Regions from separate parts of the Homo sapiens genome. Here regions 1, 2, 3, 4 and 6 are each linked to region 5. Evidence: promoter capture Hi-C in human tissues and cell types (Jung and others, 2019). All regions are on one chromosome and are shown on one strand. The core of a region is centred on a gene start or on the middle of the fragment in contact, and the rest is flanking DNA. Distances in the headings are between cores, read along the strand shown. Region 1 overlaps RIT2 (Ras like without CAAX 2). Region 2 overlaps LINC00907 (long intergenic non-protein coding RNA 907). Region 3 overlaps LINC00907 (long intergenic non-protein coding RNA 907). Region 4 overlaps LINC00907 (long intergenic non-protein coding RNA 907). Region 5 holds the start of SYT4 (synaptotagmin 4). Region 6 overlaps LINC00907 (long intergenic non-protein coding RNA 907).

Region 1 (2,700 bases), core at 94-2,593, 520 kb before region 5:
ATAAATCAATAAAATTGGGCAGTACGTGCAATATATATAAATGCAGGACCTTGAACGTGTAAATATACATACATGTATGTGCATGCCTAAGGATATCTTCACATATTTGCACTAATAAATAAATATGTGTGTTTGATGTATATTAAATCAATGGTCCTTCTGAACCTTCAGGGGATTGGTTATTGTGAATAGCTAAATTTTCCATTTTAACATGGCCTAAAAATGTACTCTTTGAAGACCAAAAAATTTTATTATTTAATCTATTCTGTTAACAAATTTATATTAGGTAAAAATAGAAAAAAAACTTATGTATTATACTTGTAACACATAAAACAATTATAATTAAATAATAAATTATATAACTCTACAATGTCTGGATCTCCTGCAGAATATAAGATCAAGAAGACAAAGGACATTATATTGTCAGCAACACCTCAATGCTTTGCAAGTGAACCATGTTCAATAAACACCTTTCCTATCTCTTCACTGAATGGAGACTGAATAAATGGATAGGAAGTTGACCAAAGAGTAACCAACCAATTACTACAGAAGAAACCCTCCATGAATTAACTAGAGAATTAGAAGCTGAAATCTCATTTGAATTACTTAAGGTTTTAACTTATTTTCATTAACATATCTGTGCAATTCATGCAAAGTGTCAAAATGCTTGATTACATATGTTGTCAGGTTAGAACATGGCCCTGCAGAATCTCTGGACAGAAAAATAAGAAGACCGGGTCATCATGCCTTCTTGAATGGAATCTAGGGACCAGAGTAGCAGATGACTTTGATGAAGCCTATAGGAAAGCTCAAGGTTCCCCAGAGGTATCTTGGGCTCCTTCAAGCTCACAATCAACCTATATATCTTTTTGGATTATATTTGGGTAAGGCTTGCCATGAAAAGAAGGATGAACTAGAACAAAATAAATTTTACAAAAGTTCTAACCCTAGTATCTACAGAAAACAAAACTGAACCAATATTCTACGTTTTCTGGCCTTACACACACGGAGACAGGCATTTTTTGAAAATGTACGTGCCTGTGCTTATTGGTACCACTATACATTTATATTTCAATCTTAGCAGAGTCATCACTGCTCTTGTCAATTGTTCTGCTTATTATCAGCCAGTTCCCTGTCCTATTTCTCGTTTAGTTCTTCAAATCCTTCATTTCTTGTCTCAGATCTCTGACCCCATCCTTATTTTAAGCAGATGCTCTCACCCTCCTATTTCACCTCAGTGAGGAAATAAAAGCATCCCAAAAGAATGATTTCAACATCCTGGACTAGCACCTAGAAACTCATCTGTATTATTAGACATCTTATCTTACTCTTTCTCCTCTCAGGCAAAGAGAGGTTACTGATTCTTGTCAAGTTTGATACCTCTATCTGGGCTGAATAACCTTTTTTTTTTTTAATCTATTTCAATCCTGCAGTATTAGTTGTCCCACCTTTTTCCTATATTTTTAGTCTTCTTCTATAACAGCCCCTTTGGTTTCAGAAAAATATTCAAGTCTCAACTATTTTTAGTGCCCAGTTCATTTACGCTCTTATATCTGCCCTTTTTATAAGGTTAAACAGAGAGAAGATAGGGCTGGGGAAGGAAAGGATTAGAAAAAAAAAGACGTACAATTTCAAAATAAAATACATTATAGGTTTATGTGCTAGTTTGTCTTAATCACTTCTAATTTGCACATTAATATTCACAATCTGTATTCCATTTCACCTCATTCTTCTAACATGGTTTTGCAAAAGTACCATTCTTACTGTCAAATCCAATAGATGTTTCCAGCAATTTTTACCAACTGCAATATTTGACAACTTGCCTAGTCCCTTACTTCAATTCCTCTCCTTTGAATTGATGCTTTCCTCCTTTCTTGACATTCTAATCCTTTTTTTTTTTGATAACCCTTGTTTTATTTTTATTTTTATTTTGAGAAGGAGTTTTTCTCTCATCACCCAGGCTGGAGTAAAATGGTGCAATCTTGGCTCACTGCTACCTCTGCCTCCCGGGTTCAGGCAATTCTCCTGCCTCAGCCTCTCAAGTGGCTGGGATTACAAGCATGTGCCACTGCACCCGGCTAATTTTTTTTTTTTTTTTGTATTTTTAGTAGAGACAGGGTTTCACCATGTTGGCTAGGCTGGTCTCAATCTCCTGACCACAAGTGATCTGCCTGCCCAAAGTGCTGGGATTACAGGCATGAGCCACCATACCTGGCCTGATTACCCTTTCTGAATATTCTGTCTGAATATTCTGATGTTTGACTCTTTACTCAGGCTTTTCACAATTATGTGCCCATTGATTCTGTCCTTGATTCTGACCAGGACTTAAATCATCAACTCCTACAGTTCCCAAGCCCTCAGGCTTGGACTGGAGCTATACAAATGGCTTTCCTGAGCCTCCAGCTTGCAGATTGCAGATGTGGGACTTGTCAGCCTTCGTAGTAGCATGACTCAGTCCTTCATAATAAATCTCTTTCACTATATCTCTGTATATCCTATTGGTTCTGTTTCTCTGGGGAACCCTGAGTGATACAATCCTAAAAGCAAAAGAATTCAGGATTGCAATAAGCTTAAGGGTCATCTTTCAGGACATTAAATCATTATGTCTCTTCCACATCTCTGTTAATGACTGTCTAGTTTCTGTAGGCACGCACTTACTGCACATTCCTCCATAAAATGACCATTTCTGTCAATGTTTCT
Region 2 (2,700 bases), core at 9-2,508, 820 kb before region 5:
TTTGGAAAATTCCTATGCATTTATACATACACATAGCTGTAAATGATTTATTTGCACAAAAATGGATTGTAATATTCTGATAAAAGTCCATTAAGATACGTTGTTAATTGACTTTTTTCATCTAACTATATGTTTTAGAAAACTTTCATATCAGCATATTTTTATCTACCTCGTTTGTATAAATAATTGCATGATATCCTGTATTATGCAATGACAATAATTTAGCCATTTCCTATTGTTGGGCAATTCAGTTATGTGAGAGCCGAATTTAAACGAAATGTTTCAGAAGTAAAATAACACTGGATGGTAGCGAAGTTTAGGGTGAGGGCAGTGGGTGGATGGCAGAAATAGGGTTGGGGAGGCACTGGTGATAAAAACACAGAGAGGAATTTACCAATTGTACAGTGGCTTAACACAAGGGGTACTGAGGGCACCTAGGGTGAAGACAGAAATGGAGCTGGGCCAAAGGGTAGTGTGCTTTAAGCTAAAGGAAGCAATGAAGAAGGATGAATGACCAGAAGCATGGTAGGTATTAGTGATGAGGAGGTATTCAAATTATATGATTAGGTAGAAAGAGCTGCAAGATGTCTTTTTCTTTCTTATTTTTCTTACTGAGGTCTAAATAGAAATGTTCTGGAAAAATCACTAGAGAGAGAGTAATGAGAATGATAACCATTTCTTTGACCTAGAGGCAAGGAAAATGAAGGAGAAAAAGAAATTTTCATTTGAGATGCATTTATTACAATTTGTATCCTTCAGGCACTTCTAGATATCTGTTGAGGCCTGGAAGGGGCAAAACAATTCAGGAAGCAGTTGAAGATAAAGGGGTTTACCATGGAAGAGAAGATCCAGGTGCCTTCATGGAAATGCTTGTGGTTGAAAAGAGATGAAGATGAGGGTCCCTGGAAAGAGGAAGAACCAGCCAGGTATGGTAGCTCATCCCTGTAATTCCAGCACTTTGGAAGACTGAGGCAGGAGGATCACTTGAGGTCAGGAGTTCAAGACCAGCCTGGTCAACATGGTGAAACCCTGCCTCTACTAAAAATACAAAAAAATAATAATAATAATTAGCTGGGTGTGGTGGTGGGCGTGTGTAATCCCAGCTACTCAGGAGGCTAAGGCAGGAGAATCGCTTGAACTGGGAGGCAGAGGTTGCCGTGAGCCGAGATCACGCCACTGCACTCCTGCCTGGGTGACAGAGCAAGACTCCATCTCAAAAAAACAAATTTTAAATTAAAAAAAAAGAGAGAGGAAGAACCAAGCAATGTGGAGTTGAGAGAAGAGGCAGGATATGAACAAGGGTGCTGGGAGTATATGGGAGTATGAGGTGGTAGGTTGAGACGGCCTCCTGATTTCCTCAACTTAGTCCTTCCATTGGCCAAGGAGGAATTGGGAGTGAGAGGATTCAGGCCTCTTAAGAGTTATTCATGACCTGAAGTGAGGGTGCTCATGAGAAAGTTCTGGTCACAGCAAAGAGGCTGACAATAGAAACCAGTCCCTGCAACTGCCACTTTGCACTAGAAATAGCCCCTCTCTCCCTCAGGCAGCAATGATATAGGGAGCAGTGTATCCATACCAGGGTCATCTCTGCAAGCGATTCTCCTAGTCTAGGCTCAATTTCCTCATTTTAAAATAAGTGACTACACTAAATTATATCCATAGTCAAAAATCAAAGATTCCACATATTACCCTTTAGTTCATAAAATTTTCTTTTTTCTTTCATTTTTTTTTTAGGAAAATTATACCATTAGCAAGACTGGCATCAGCAAGTAGTTCGCAGTGTTGGTTGTTCTTGGTTTCGCAGGATTTTATAGGAGGTATGACATTTATTTAAAATGGATTTGTTTCTTTGTTACTCCTATTCCATGCTGGCTAGACAGCTTTCCTTGGGGTCTCTCATCTATTTCAGTGCCATTCCATTCATCACTCACAAATCATTAATTTGCCTGTGTTGTGTTACCTCCTGAGATTTTCTGTTTCTGAGTCAATAGAGTTGAGAGCTAATGTACATTTCACAAATATTCCTGGGAAAGGGCTTGGAGCAAGAATTGAAGAGACTTTATATTTTAGTATAGCATATACCGTAATAACTCATTCCTTTTATATGAGTGTTGAAGAAGGGAACTGCCAGATTAGAGGCAAGTCCATCAAAATCATTCCTCCGTGTATTCAGTCAGACAGAGTTATGTTCAGCTGAGCTTAAATCATAAGCAGTGACTGAGCACCTATGATGTCCCTAGCATTGGGCTGGGATAAGATAATGGAAGGAACATGAAACATGGTTTTTCTCTCAAAATATTCACAATTAGTTGGAGAGACCAAAAACAACCAGGTAAACAGATAAATAAGGATCGAAAGTAAATAATATTAATTGTTAATAAAAGAAAAGGTATTACAAAGCAGAACTTAATTAATGAACAAATAAATTATACAGATAGGAATTGCCATAGACTTTGAAAGAAAATTGAGATATTTCGGGCTATAATAAACAGTGAAGATTTTGAGGTAAAGTTTAGTATTAGATCTTAGTGTCTTAAGTATATAGCTTAAAGTATAGGCAGGATTTGAACATTTAAACAGAATTAGGAAGGAGATATGCAAGGTGGCTGTTTGAGAACGATCTGAACAAACACATTAGGTTGAGAAATAGCACTGTGCATTTGCAGTAGGGGACATATGAGTGGAAGCATTACGAGTTGG
Region 3 (2,700 bases), core at 58-2,557, 960 kb before region 5:
TTATCACTTCCACCCAGTGGTATCGAGGAGCTTCTCCCCATTTAGGTGTCAACAGAGGTTGAGTGGAAACCTGAACTTCTGCCCCTACCTGGCAGTGATGAGAGTAAGGAGCTGCTACCTTGTTCCCTTCCCCTGACAAAGTGTTGTCAGGACAAGGCAGTTGAATAAAACAATATTTAAATAAGATCTACAACCTCATAACATAATATCTAAAATGTCAAGGCTTTAATTGAAAATCACTCATCTTACTAAGACCCATGAGGAACTCACACTAAATAAAACAAGATAATCAATGAATGTCAACACTGAGATGGCAGAGCTGTAAGGATTATCTGAGGGGAAAAAAGTAAAGAAGTCATACTAAAAATGCCTCAACAGCAATTACAAACAAACACTAAACAAAAAATAACCTCCAAAAAGATATATGAAGTCTCAACAAGAAATGGAAGATATAAAAAAGAACCAAATAAAAATATTAGAACTGGAAGATAACCAAAATAAAAAGCTTAGTGGATAAACTTTACACCAGAATGAAGGGGGGAAAGAGAAAATATGAAGATAGAACAATAAAATTGTATAATCTGAACATCAAAGAGTAAATAGACTAAATTTATGAAAAGAACAAAGCCTCAGAAACCTGTGGGAAAATAACAAGAGATATAACATTTCTGTCAATAAAGTCCCGAAAAGAGGACAGAGACAAAAAGTACTCAAACAACTAATGACTGAAAACTCAAATTTGGCAAAAGATATAAATGTATAGATTGAAGAAGCTGAGTGAACATTAAACAGAATATACCCAGTGAAATCCAACCAGGAAAATTTATAATCAACCTTCTAAAAACTAAAAGAAAAGGTTTTAAAAAAAGTGATAAACAACAGCTTATCTATGGGGGAAAAACAATGTAGATAACATTGCATTTATCATCAGAAATTGTGGTGGCCAGAAATAAAGAGGCACAATATTTTTCAAGTGCTGAGAAAAAAATGGCTTGCAACCCAGAATTTATACTCAGTAAGAAATATCCTTCAAGGAAGATGGAAAAATCAAAACATCAAAATATTCTCAGATAAAGGATTACTAAGAGATTTTTTTACCAGGACACCTACCTTACAAAACATGACTGAAGGAAGTTCTTTAAACCCAAAGCAAATGATAAAAGAAGAAGTCTCTGGAACATCAATTAAGAAGAAAAAAAACAATTAAACAAAGGACTAAATACAATAGATTTTTCTTCTCTTGAGTTTGCTATACGATGTTTGATAGTTAAAGCAAAAATTATAACAATGTCTCTGCTTCTAAATGTATGTAGAAGAAATATTATGGAAAATGAGGCAGAAGAGATCTAAAGGGAATAAGATTTCTGTTCTTCACTCTAACAGGGATGATGATGACACCAATAGACTCTGATAAGTTATGTATGTATAATGTAATCATAGCACAACCACTAAAAAAGTCATCTACCAAAACGCACTCAAAGCACTATTAATACATCAAAACAAAATTTGAAAAATATTTTGTAACCCACAGGAAGACAGTAAAAGGAAACAAAAGCTCAGTGAGAACAAAGAGAAAACACAAAACAAAAAGGCACACTAAAACTCTAACATATCAATAATTACACTATGTGTAAATAATATAAGGGCATTAATGAAAAGACAGAAATACACATTAAACAAATATGATCCAACTGCATGCTGTCTACAGAAAATTCACTTCAGATACAGAATGCAGGGAGGTTGAAAGCACAAAGACAGGGAAAAAAAAATCATGCAAGCATTAATTAAAATAAAGTAGAATTTACTAAGAAGATATAGCAATCCTAAATGCCCACAACCCAAAAAACAGAGCCTCAAAATATGTGAAATAAAAATGAAAAGAGGAAATGGGCACATCCACAATTTTAGTAGTTGCATTTCAGCACTCTTCTATCAAGAACTGATAGAACTACTAGATAGGAAATCAGCAAAAATATCGAAAAACTCAACAGCACCATCAAACAACAAAATCTCAACATAACACTCCACCTCCAAAAAGCAGATAACTATTATTTCAAGTGCTCAAAGAATATATACCAAGGTAGATCACATGCTGGACCATAAAACATACCTACTACATTTCGAAGCATCATACAATGTGTTCTCTGATCACAATGGAATCAAACTAAAGATCAGTACAGAAAGACAACAGATAAATCTCCAAACCCTTTGGAAATATATAATTTATTTCTCAATAGTTCATGGGTCAAGGAGGAAGTCTCCAGGTAAATAATAAAAGGATATTGAATAGAATAAAAATGAATTATCAAAATTTGTAAGATACAGCTAAAGTAGTACTGAGAAAAATATTTTGGACCCTAAATGTTTACACTAGAGAAGAGGGAAAAAAGCTCAGATCATTAATTTAAGCACCCACTGCAAGTACCTAAAATAAGAAAAACAAAATAAATCTAAAGTAAGAAGAAGGAAAAAAAGTAAAGAAAAGAACAGGAATCAATAAAACTAAAAACAAAAACGTAGAGAAAATTAGTAAAACAAAGAGCTGGTTTTTTAAAATCTCAATAAATCAACAAATCTCTAGCAAGACAGGCAAAAAAAAAAAAAAAAACAGAGAAGACACAAATCATCAATATCAAGAATGAAATAGAGGATATCACTACAAACCCTGAGTACATCAAAAGGATAATTAGAGATTGGTAT
Region 4 (2,700 bases), core at 159-2,658, 770 kb before region 5:
TTTGACCCAGCAATCCCATTACTGGGTATATACCCCAGGGATTATAAATCATTCTACTGTAAAGACACATGCACACATATGTTTATGCGGCACTGTTCACAATAGCAAAGACTTGGAACCAACCCAAATTCTGAACAGTGATAGACTGTATAAAGCAAATGTGGCACTTATACACCATGGAGTACTATGCAGCCATAAAAAGGATGAGTTCATGTCCTTTGTAGGGGCATGGATGAAGCTGGAAGCCATCATTCTCAGCAAACTAACACAAGAACAGGAAACCAAACACCTCATGTTCTCACTCATAGGTGGGAGTTGAATAATGAGAACACATGGACACAGGGAAGGGAACATCACACAATGGTGCCTGTCAGCAGGTGGGGGGCTAGGGGAGGGATAGCACTGGGAGAAATACCTAATGTAGATGACGGGTTGATGGGTGCAGCAAACCACCATGGCACATGTATACCTATGTAACAAACCTGCACGTTGTGCACATGTACCCCAGAACTTAAAGTATAATAATAAAAAAATTATTGTACTTATGGGTGAATTTAACTTATTGTTATTAATATTATGAACTACCTATATCTAGTAATGCTTTTGCTTAAAAGTATATAGTGATAGGAAAAACATTCCTATCTGTTTACCCAGCCACTGCGCCTGGCCTATTTCGTTAAGTTTTAAACTTATTACAAATCATAGGTGGTTGGATTCTTTTCAGTTTGGTTGATTTTTTTGAATTAACTGTTTATTACTTTAATTGGAATATAATATTTGATATATTGGAATTTGGATCAAGCATCTTATTTCAAGCTTCCCATTGCCAAAATATTTTGTGCCACGTTTTCCTTCCTTTCTGCTTTTTGGAATTGTTGAGATTAATTTTTTCCTTTCATGTTTGCTGCTAGCAGCTGGGAAGTATTGTATTGATTTATTTAGTAGTTACCCTAGAAATTGAAACATACTTTACTTAGGAAAAGTCTAAAATTGTTCAGTATCATTAGCATCCTTCTAAATAATAGAGGACTTAAAAACATATAAACTACTTTTAGCCATCTCCTGACTTATCCTCTAGTGATTTTGTACTTTTTTTTTCTTTTTCTGAGATGGAATCTCACTCTGTCTCCCAGGCTGAAGTGCAGTGGCATAATCTCAGCTCACTGCAACCTCCACCTCCTGGATTCAAGCAGTTCTTCTACCTCAGCCTCCCAAGTAGCTAGGATTACAGGCATGCACCAGCACACCCAGCTAATTTTTGTATTTTTAGCGGATACGGGGTTTCACCATTTTGGCCAGGCTGGTCTCAAACTCCTGACCTCAGGTGATCTGGCCGACTCAGCCCCCCAAAGTGCTGGGATTACAGGCATGAGACTTTGTGCATTTTATAAGCCAATATCATCAAACATGACTATGTTAAGCAGTTAATGTTTGTTTAAATTCACTAACAAATTTATCACATTAGTGTCCATCATTTTTTTCATCTCAGATTTGATTGTCCATCTGTTATCACTTTGCTCATTATATACTATTTACTATTTATTTATTTATCTTTAGTCAGGATCTGTTGATGTAAATTCAGCTTACATGTTTCAGAAAATATCTTCATATTGCTATGATAAGATATTTTTACTCGGCATAGAACTTTTGGTTGACATTCCTTTTTTCTCTGGGCATATTGAAGATATTATTCCACTGTGTTTAACTTTTAGTTTTGCCAATGAGATGTCAGCTGTCAATGTGTTATTTCCTGGAAGATAATTTCTCTTTCTCTCTTTCTCCCTAGCTGTTTTTTCTCTTTATCATTGGAGTTTTGTGTTTTTATTCTATTATGTTTATATTGTTTAGTATTCATTAGATTTGTTAAAGATATATATAGATACACACACACACAAACACATATAGGTACACATACACACACATATAGATGTCTTTCTTCGATTCTGGAGAATTCTCAGCCATTTTTATTAAAATATTGTCTCTGCCACTTTTTCTTTTCTTCTCTGGAATAAACATAGATATTTTTCTCTTTAGCCTCTGTGTATCTTAGAGTCCTTTTATATTTTCCATCATTCTGCCTCCTTTTACTTTATTCCTGATAATTTCTCAGATCCCCGCTCCACTTTGATAATTTTCTCTTCTGTTTTGCACACTAATGTTTTAAGTTTCAAATAATGTATTTTTTAATTTCTGCAATTTCTATTTGCTGCTGCAAAATCTTCTGTGTTTACATGTGCCATGCTGGTGCGCTGCACCCACTATGTATACATATGTAACTAACCTGCACAATGTGCACATGTACCCTAAAACTTAAAGTATAATAAAAAAAATAAATAAAATAAAAAAAATCTTCTGTGTTTTTCTTCAAGGATGTTTGTTCTCTGCACATATTCAAGCTTGCATTTTATTTTGTCTTAAAATTAAGCAGTTATTTTTTACTTTACCTACTGCCTAGTTATTTTGCTTTTGGTTATATTTTATTTTGACTTTAGAATGTACATTTGGTTTTGTATGCTTCTATTTCTTTATTGAAACTTCCTGTTACTTAAGTTGTTGTTATCACATCTTTCCTTTAATTCACTCAATATAGTTTTCTTTAATTCTTTTACTAAATTTATGATAATTGCTTAAAATCTTTGCCTGCTAAATTCATTATTTGTGTCCCCTTGCAGTTAAATTTATAATGGCTGATTTTTCCCT
Region 5 (2,700 bases), core at 48-2,547:
AATATCACAAATTGTCCCTATTGAATAGTTATGTCAAATGGCAAACATTTTCTATAACGTGGAAACACTTATCTACTCCCTATGTATTCTCTACTGATAAGGTCTTACAATCTTGAAAGTCAAGATCATAGTTATTTTACTCAGCTTAATAACAATTATCACACATCTGTAGATATCACTCCTCTTCACAACCTTCTATGAAATTTCATGATTTAAAAAATACGTGTAAGTAAAATTCTGACCTTTTTCCTTTGGAATATACTGAGATCTAAAAATAGTACTTTTTTACTCTATGAAGTACGTCTAATTTTATGTACTGAAACCAAAAACTTGGTGTGAGAAAAGGAAAACTGAACGGGAAAATTGGAGCCCTAATTCAAGTTTCCAGCAGCTTTTAGCTAATTGTGCAACCTATAATACTTCCCTCATCTCTCTGGGCTTTGGTTAGCTCAGCAGTGAAATGAAATGGGCTGAGCCAGTTCATTTTGAAACTCTCTTTAACCCTGCTACCATATGATTCTGTCTTTCACTAGCAACATATTTCAAGGATACAAGAAAAACATAGCAGAGAAAAACACCCATATGGTACGCCCTGTAATAAAATATACATTGCCAAACCCCAATAGACAAGTTGCTTTTTTTAACCAAGATCAAACCCCAATGTAACCAGAGATATATTTATCTTCTCCTAATAAAATATAGATTTACCTACAAATAAGAATCACCTACAAAATAGATGAAACCAACATGGGAAAAACAGACCCCTTTTTCTTTACTCAGTACATGCTGCAATTTACAGAAGTACCTGAAAATTTAAGAACTTCCTGAAGGTAAATTCTCCCTAACAGAAGACAGTTTCAGGGAGAGAGATACCAAGGAAGGGAGAGAAGCTGCAGAAATAAGCCACAATTGCCTGACTGCCATTCTCATTTTCCTTTTAAATTAACTACCTAGGAAATCTGTATTCAACAACCGGGCAAAAAATAAATGAATAAACAGTCCACCCCAGAGTATTCAAGGAATAACCGCAGTCATAAGTTCAGTAACTTGCTTACCAAATTCTTCCCGGCTGGTGGTGATCGGAGCCATTTTTTACTGCGTGTTCTGTCCGAGGTGCTGAAGGGAAAACTGCCTGGCTGGATTCACTTGCCTGGATCTCAAGCGCCGGCTTTCGGAGCGCTGAAAACAACAGCGCAGAGCCCAGGGCACCAGCTCCTGGAACAGGGAGGAGGCAAAGAGGGAGGTCCACTCGCCCTCGCACAGTGATTTGCCACCTCGGTTCCTGTTTTGGCTCTTCTGAGAAGCTCGTCTCCGAGACTCCAGACGTGGCTGGAACCCGAATTGACGCAATCCTGACGCTACAGGGCTGAAATCAGCACCTGCCCCCCTCCCCTCCTCCCTTCAAGCTTTCCTTCTTGCTTCCTCCCTCCTCTCTTGAGGATTCAACACATGCTCATCAATTATTTTAACTGTTGGACCACTAGAGATTAGCTTTGCTGTTTTGTGGGGGCTCAGAGGCTCACCGAGATAAGCCCCGAAACTGATCCCTGTCAGTTCCTAATATAAAATCTCCTGATCACCTAGATGAATAAAAATATGTTTCTGAGTTTTCAGAATAACGTAACTTACAGAGGAGAAGTTTCTGCTTCAAATTACTCTTTTTAACATGCAAAAACATGTTTTCTTGCTTTTTAATTTTTTTCTTTGACATGTTATACCTATGATACTTATTACATTTAGAAAAGATTCACTACAAATTGATGCATTTGATATAAGATAGTTTTCCCAGTATAATCCTTTATGTTCTAATAAATTATTAGTCTAAATATTTTGCTGGAACAGTTGATCTTTCCTGGTCTCTCAGCTCTCTTCCCTTTAATATCTGACATTTGACCAGTTAAAGCACTTAGGAACAGATGGGGATAATTCCTTGGATATTCAGAGTCACTCTCAGTTATGACTTTTGCAAATAATAAGGCGCTTCTGAAATGACATTTATGGTTAAAAGGCCTGACTTCTAGTACGTTTGTACAAAATAGTTTCCAAAATCAGGCCAACATCTAAAGTAACATTGGTAACATTGGTTATTTCAAAGGAAAGCATTCCTTTTTCTAAACTGATGATATTCTCGGAGGTGAAAAACTGTGAAAAATATGGTGTCGGATTCTGATTCATTGGAATCTGAAGAGTGTGCCTTTCTAAAACAAATGCTTAGCAATTTTTCAAAGGAAAGAAGTCAAGCTGTAACTCCAACTGTCAATTATTGCTCTGCAAAGAATTTCTTTGCTCTGGAGTTAATAAGGAAATGGCATTCAGTGTGTGCTGGGATGTGGGAGAAGGGATACAGGGTGAGTCTCAGAAAGCTACTGTGCAAGTGACAGGTCCCTGCACATTGGCTAGCAGCAGCCCAGAGCATCAGGGCTCTGTCTGGGGAGAAATTGGCTTCAGTTCTTTGCATCATGGAAAATTTTATAAACCAGTCTTTTTTCTTTGCTATTCTATTTGCTCCCACATACTTGGCATTGGAGTGTTCCTCTAACAGATTTTTTTAAACTTTATATCTTCATGCTTTGAAAACACACAAACTAATTTGCTGTATTTAATTTTTCTGCTGGCAGAGTCTGTGGTTGTGTCTTTATCATTTCACTTTATTCAGATTACCTATTTCCTTAATTATGCATGCATGCACCCTGTAGGGTT
Region 6 (2,700 bases), core at 52-2,551, 660 kb before region 5:
TCTTTTCTCTTAAATAGCCAGGTCATAAGTAGGAAACATAAGACTAGCCAAGAAGGAACTAATATAACAGTATGAATTGTTGACTTCAAGAGGGCAGGTGACATCATAGTGTGTGTTACTTTGAGAATGACATGGAAATAGACTGGAGTATGGAGAAAAGGGGAAAATGGGAAATATCTTTCTTTCTGGTGGGTCAAGGATAGCATTGGGTGATCTGCATGTCAGTGAAAATGTTTCAGCCCTTTTTGTCACTACAACATGATGTGGGAAAACAAATAAACCAAAAAGCAATTTAAAAAACATCAAATATTTAGTCATATATGAGAAGATCATTTGTTTCTTTACTGCCTTGCTTTGAAGGATTTTATATTTTATTGTTTTAACTAAAGCAGCAGGATTCACTCAATTAGGTAGGAAATCTCTAATCACAGACTTCCTCCTGACTCCTATGGAAGCTAATAAGAAGATCATTTACTCCTTTATTGTCCTGTTTTTGGGGATTACATTTTTTATTGTTTGACCTAAAGCAGTTGGATTGGCTCAAATGGAAAATCTCCAACCACAGCCTTCTTCCTGGCTCCTATAGCTCATGTGTGACCTTTGCTGTTGCATTGTGGAGCTTCCAGCACAGGCCTTGGCTGGGGCTTGTGGGCACAGATGCTGTCCCCTGAAAGGGCTTAGAAACATAAAATGAAGGTGGGCCAAAATAAGAGGCTCCTGGCTCGGCACATATGATGAGCCGGATGGAGGTGGAAAATTAGACATAATTGCCTCCATGTCATCCAAACTAAATGCCATTTAAAAAACTGCATATGGATTTTGTTTCCCTTTTGATTGTTACGGTTTTTAGAGACATCTGTGAGCACTTGTGGATATGGAAAGCAGGATGCCAAGGGTATAGTTTTGTAAAGGTTTTATCTTTCAGAAGAGAAAGCACTGAGTTTGGAGTCTGGATTACCAAGGGCTTAAATGTTGGGTTAGAGTGCCATTTCTACTTAGGAAGTGTGTTACTGTTGGCCAATTGCCATAATTCTGAACTGCAGATTCCACACATGTAACATAAAATAGTAGTACATTTTATGAAACCAACCAGCCCTATTGCTCATGTTCTCATTATTAAAATACTTCAAGACCATCAGACACCTCCCTGCCTGCAGGACAAGGTCTGATGTCCAACACTGATTAAAGGGAACTCTCTGGTCCTCCATATCTCTCTCTAATCATATTTCTCATACTTCCACTCTGACCCTTCACAATGCTTCCTTCTCTCCAGCCATCCTTGCTACTTGCATCTGACACTATTGTGCCAACCTGTCTCCTGTCTCCTTGCTTTTGTTTTCAGTGCTCTCTGTGTCTAAAATGGTACTTTGCTTCCCTAGTGAATTAACCAACTGAGTTATCCCAGGTCCTTTTTGGAGCTTCAAATCTTAATTATTTTATGTAATTAGCCTCCCACCATTAAAAGAAATTCCAAATACAATTAAGCACCTCTCTTTTGAGTTCGTTGTAACTTAAAAGTTTTTACGTTCCTAGCATGTAACATAGAACTTAATATACATAAAATGCTTAATGCTTTTGTTGAATGGATGGGCCAGTGAATGGGAAATTAGAAGTCATGAGATTGTATATTCATGATGTGGAAAGAAGCTATACTGACCACCAGTTTATGTACCACCCTCACGCCCCAGCCTTCCACACTCGCTATAGTATTTCCATCAAGATTAGAGGTCCAGCACCATCAGGAATGCTCAGAGAAAATGTGAGGCTTGAGTCAGGCTTTGAAGGGTGGTATAGGTACAGGGGAGATTTGAGGGAGAACTAGCCAGTGATGACAGCATGAGTTCAGGTAAAAAGTCACATAATTACCAGTCTGGTTTTGCTCTAAGGCAAAATTTTGTTTTACTGACCGACAGCTTTAGCTACTTGGACGTGCCCATCAGAGTTCTGGCCTTGGATAAGGGGTGCAGAGTCTATCACTCACAAAACCCTATGTCACTCAAGCTCTTACCTTTTTCAAACAACCTCCATCTACTCTTCTCCATTGTGGGGAGGATCACTTCTGTTCCGAGCTAACTTCTCCAACACCTGCTTCTACAATCCCAGCTCACTGGTTTAAACTTTAAGGTACATAAAAGTATTTTCCTCTGCATGGGCTATGAACATAACAAAATTTTTCTCTCCTTTAATGGTGGGAGACTACAAGTCTGGCCAGAGGTAAGCACAACAATAGTAGGGGTGAGAACTAAATAATGTCTGCTACCTATGTATTTTCCCCTTGTCAGTGTATACATATGCATCCATGTCCTGCTCACTTTAGGGTTATGTGTTGCCTTCTATGCTTTTGCTGAATGGATGGGCCAATTAATGGGGAATGAGAAGTCATGGGGTCATATATTCATGATGTGGAAAGAAGCCATACTGATCACCAGTTTAAACACCACCCTTGGGTGCCAGCTTTCAACAGTCGCTACAGCATTTCCATGAAGATTAGAGGGCTAGCACCATCAAGAATGCTAATAGAAAATACTTCAAGGCCCTAGAAGGCATTGAAGAATTTGTTTCTAATTTAGAATTTAAAGGTCTGAATATTGTCCTTCCAAGGAAGGAAAGAAGGTTGGAGAGGAATAAGTGATAGAGAAAATGAATTTTTCATAAGAACAAAACAGAAATTGCAAATGCAATGTTCTTGTTACCTTTACA

Evidence for each region. Contacts are between HindIII fragments. The study calls those that stand out against the background at their distance.
Region 1: a contact is called between a fragment that was not itself captured here and the fragment with the promoter of SYT4 in region 5, in 3 of the 25 tissues and cell types used here (H1 embryonic stem cells, dorsolateral prefrontal cortex and hippocampus).
Region 2: a contact is called between a fragment that was not itself captured here and the fragment with the promoter of SYT4 in region 5, in 1 of the 25 tissues and cell types used here (dorsolateral prefrontal cortex).
Region 3: a fragment that was not itself captured here is called in contact with the fragment with the promoter of SYT4 in region 5 in 1 of the 25 tissues and cell types used here (dorsolateral prefrontal cortex).
Region 4: a fragment that was not itself captured here is called in contact with the fragment with the promoter of SYT4 in region 5 in 4 of the 25 tissues and cell types used here (H1 embryonic stem cells, bladder, dorsolateral prefrontal cortex and 1 more).
Region 6: a contact is called between a fragment that was not itself captured here and the fragment with the promoter of SYT4 in region 5, in 2 of the 25 tissues and cell types used here (H1 embryonic stem cells and dorsolateral prefrontal cortex).

The regions. Positions count from the first base shown.
Region 1 is chr18:42,756,599-42,759,298 of GRCh38, forward strand. All of the region lies in intron 4 of RIT2 (Ras like without CAAX 2), which reads right to left. Among named protein-coding and RNA genes, the nearest start is that of RIT2, 360 kb to the right of the region's middle. The HindIII fragment of the contact is 6,796 bases long and covers 1-2,700 here.
Region 2 is chr18:42,453,173-42,455,872 of GRCh38, forward strand. LINC00907 (long intergenic non-protein coding RNA 907) reads left to right here. Exons shown (of 10, transcript NR_046174.2): 5 at 760-926; 6 at 1,735-1,817. Among named protein-coding and RNA genes, the nearest start is that of LINC00907, 270 kb to the left of the region's middle. The HindIII fragment of the contact is 7,748 bases long and covers 1-2,700 here.
Region 3 is chr18:42,316,163-42,318,862 of GRCh38, forward strand. All of the region lies in intron 3 of LINC00907 (long intergenic non-protein coding RNA 907), which reads left to right. Among named protein-coding and RNA genes, the nearest start is that of LINC00907, 130 kb to the left of the region's middle. The HindIII fragment of the contact is 3,073 bases long and covers 1-2,700 here.
Region 4 is chr18:42,501,144-42,503,843 of GRCh38, forward strand. The region is part of intron 6 of LINC00907 (long intergenic non-protein coding RNA 907); the gene reads left to right. Among named protein-coding and RNA genes, the nearest start is that of LINC00907, 320 kb to the left of the region's middle. The HindIII fragment of the contact is 5,394 bases long and covers 1-2,700 here.
Region 5 is chr18:43,276,193-43,278,892 of GRCh38, forward strand. It overlaps SYT4 (synaptotagmin 4), which reads right to left and starts at 1,298. Exons shown (of 4, transcript NM_020783.4): 1 at 1,056-1,298. The coding sequence starts at 1,089. The HindIII fragment of the contact is 4,332 bases long and covers 1-2,700 here.
Region 6 is chr18:42,616,610-42,619,309 of GRCh38, forward strand. All of the region lies in intron 7 of LINC00907 (long intergenic non-protein coding RNA 907), which reads left to right. Among named protein-coding and RNA genes, the nearest start is that of LINC00907, 430 kb to the left of the region's middle. The HindIII fragment of the contact is 8,203 bases long and covers 1-2,700 here.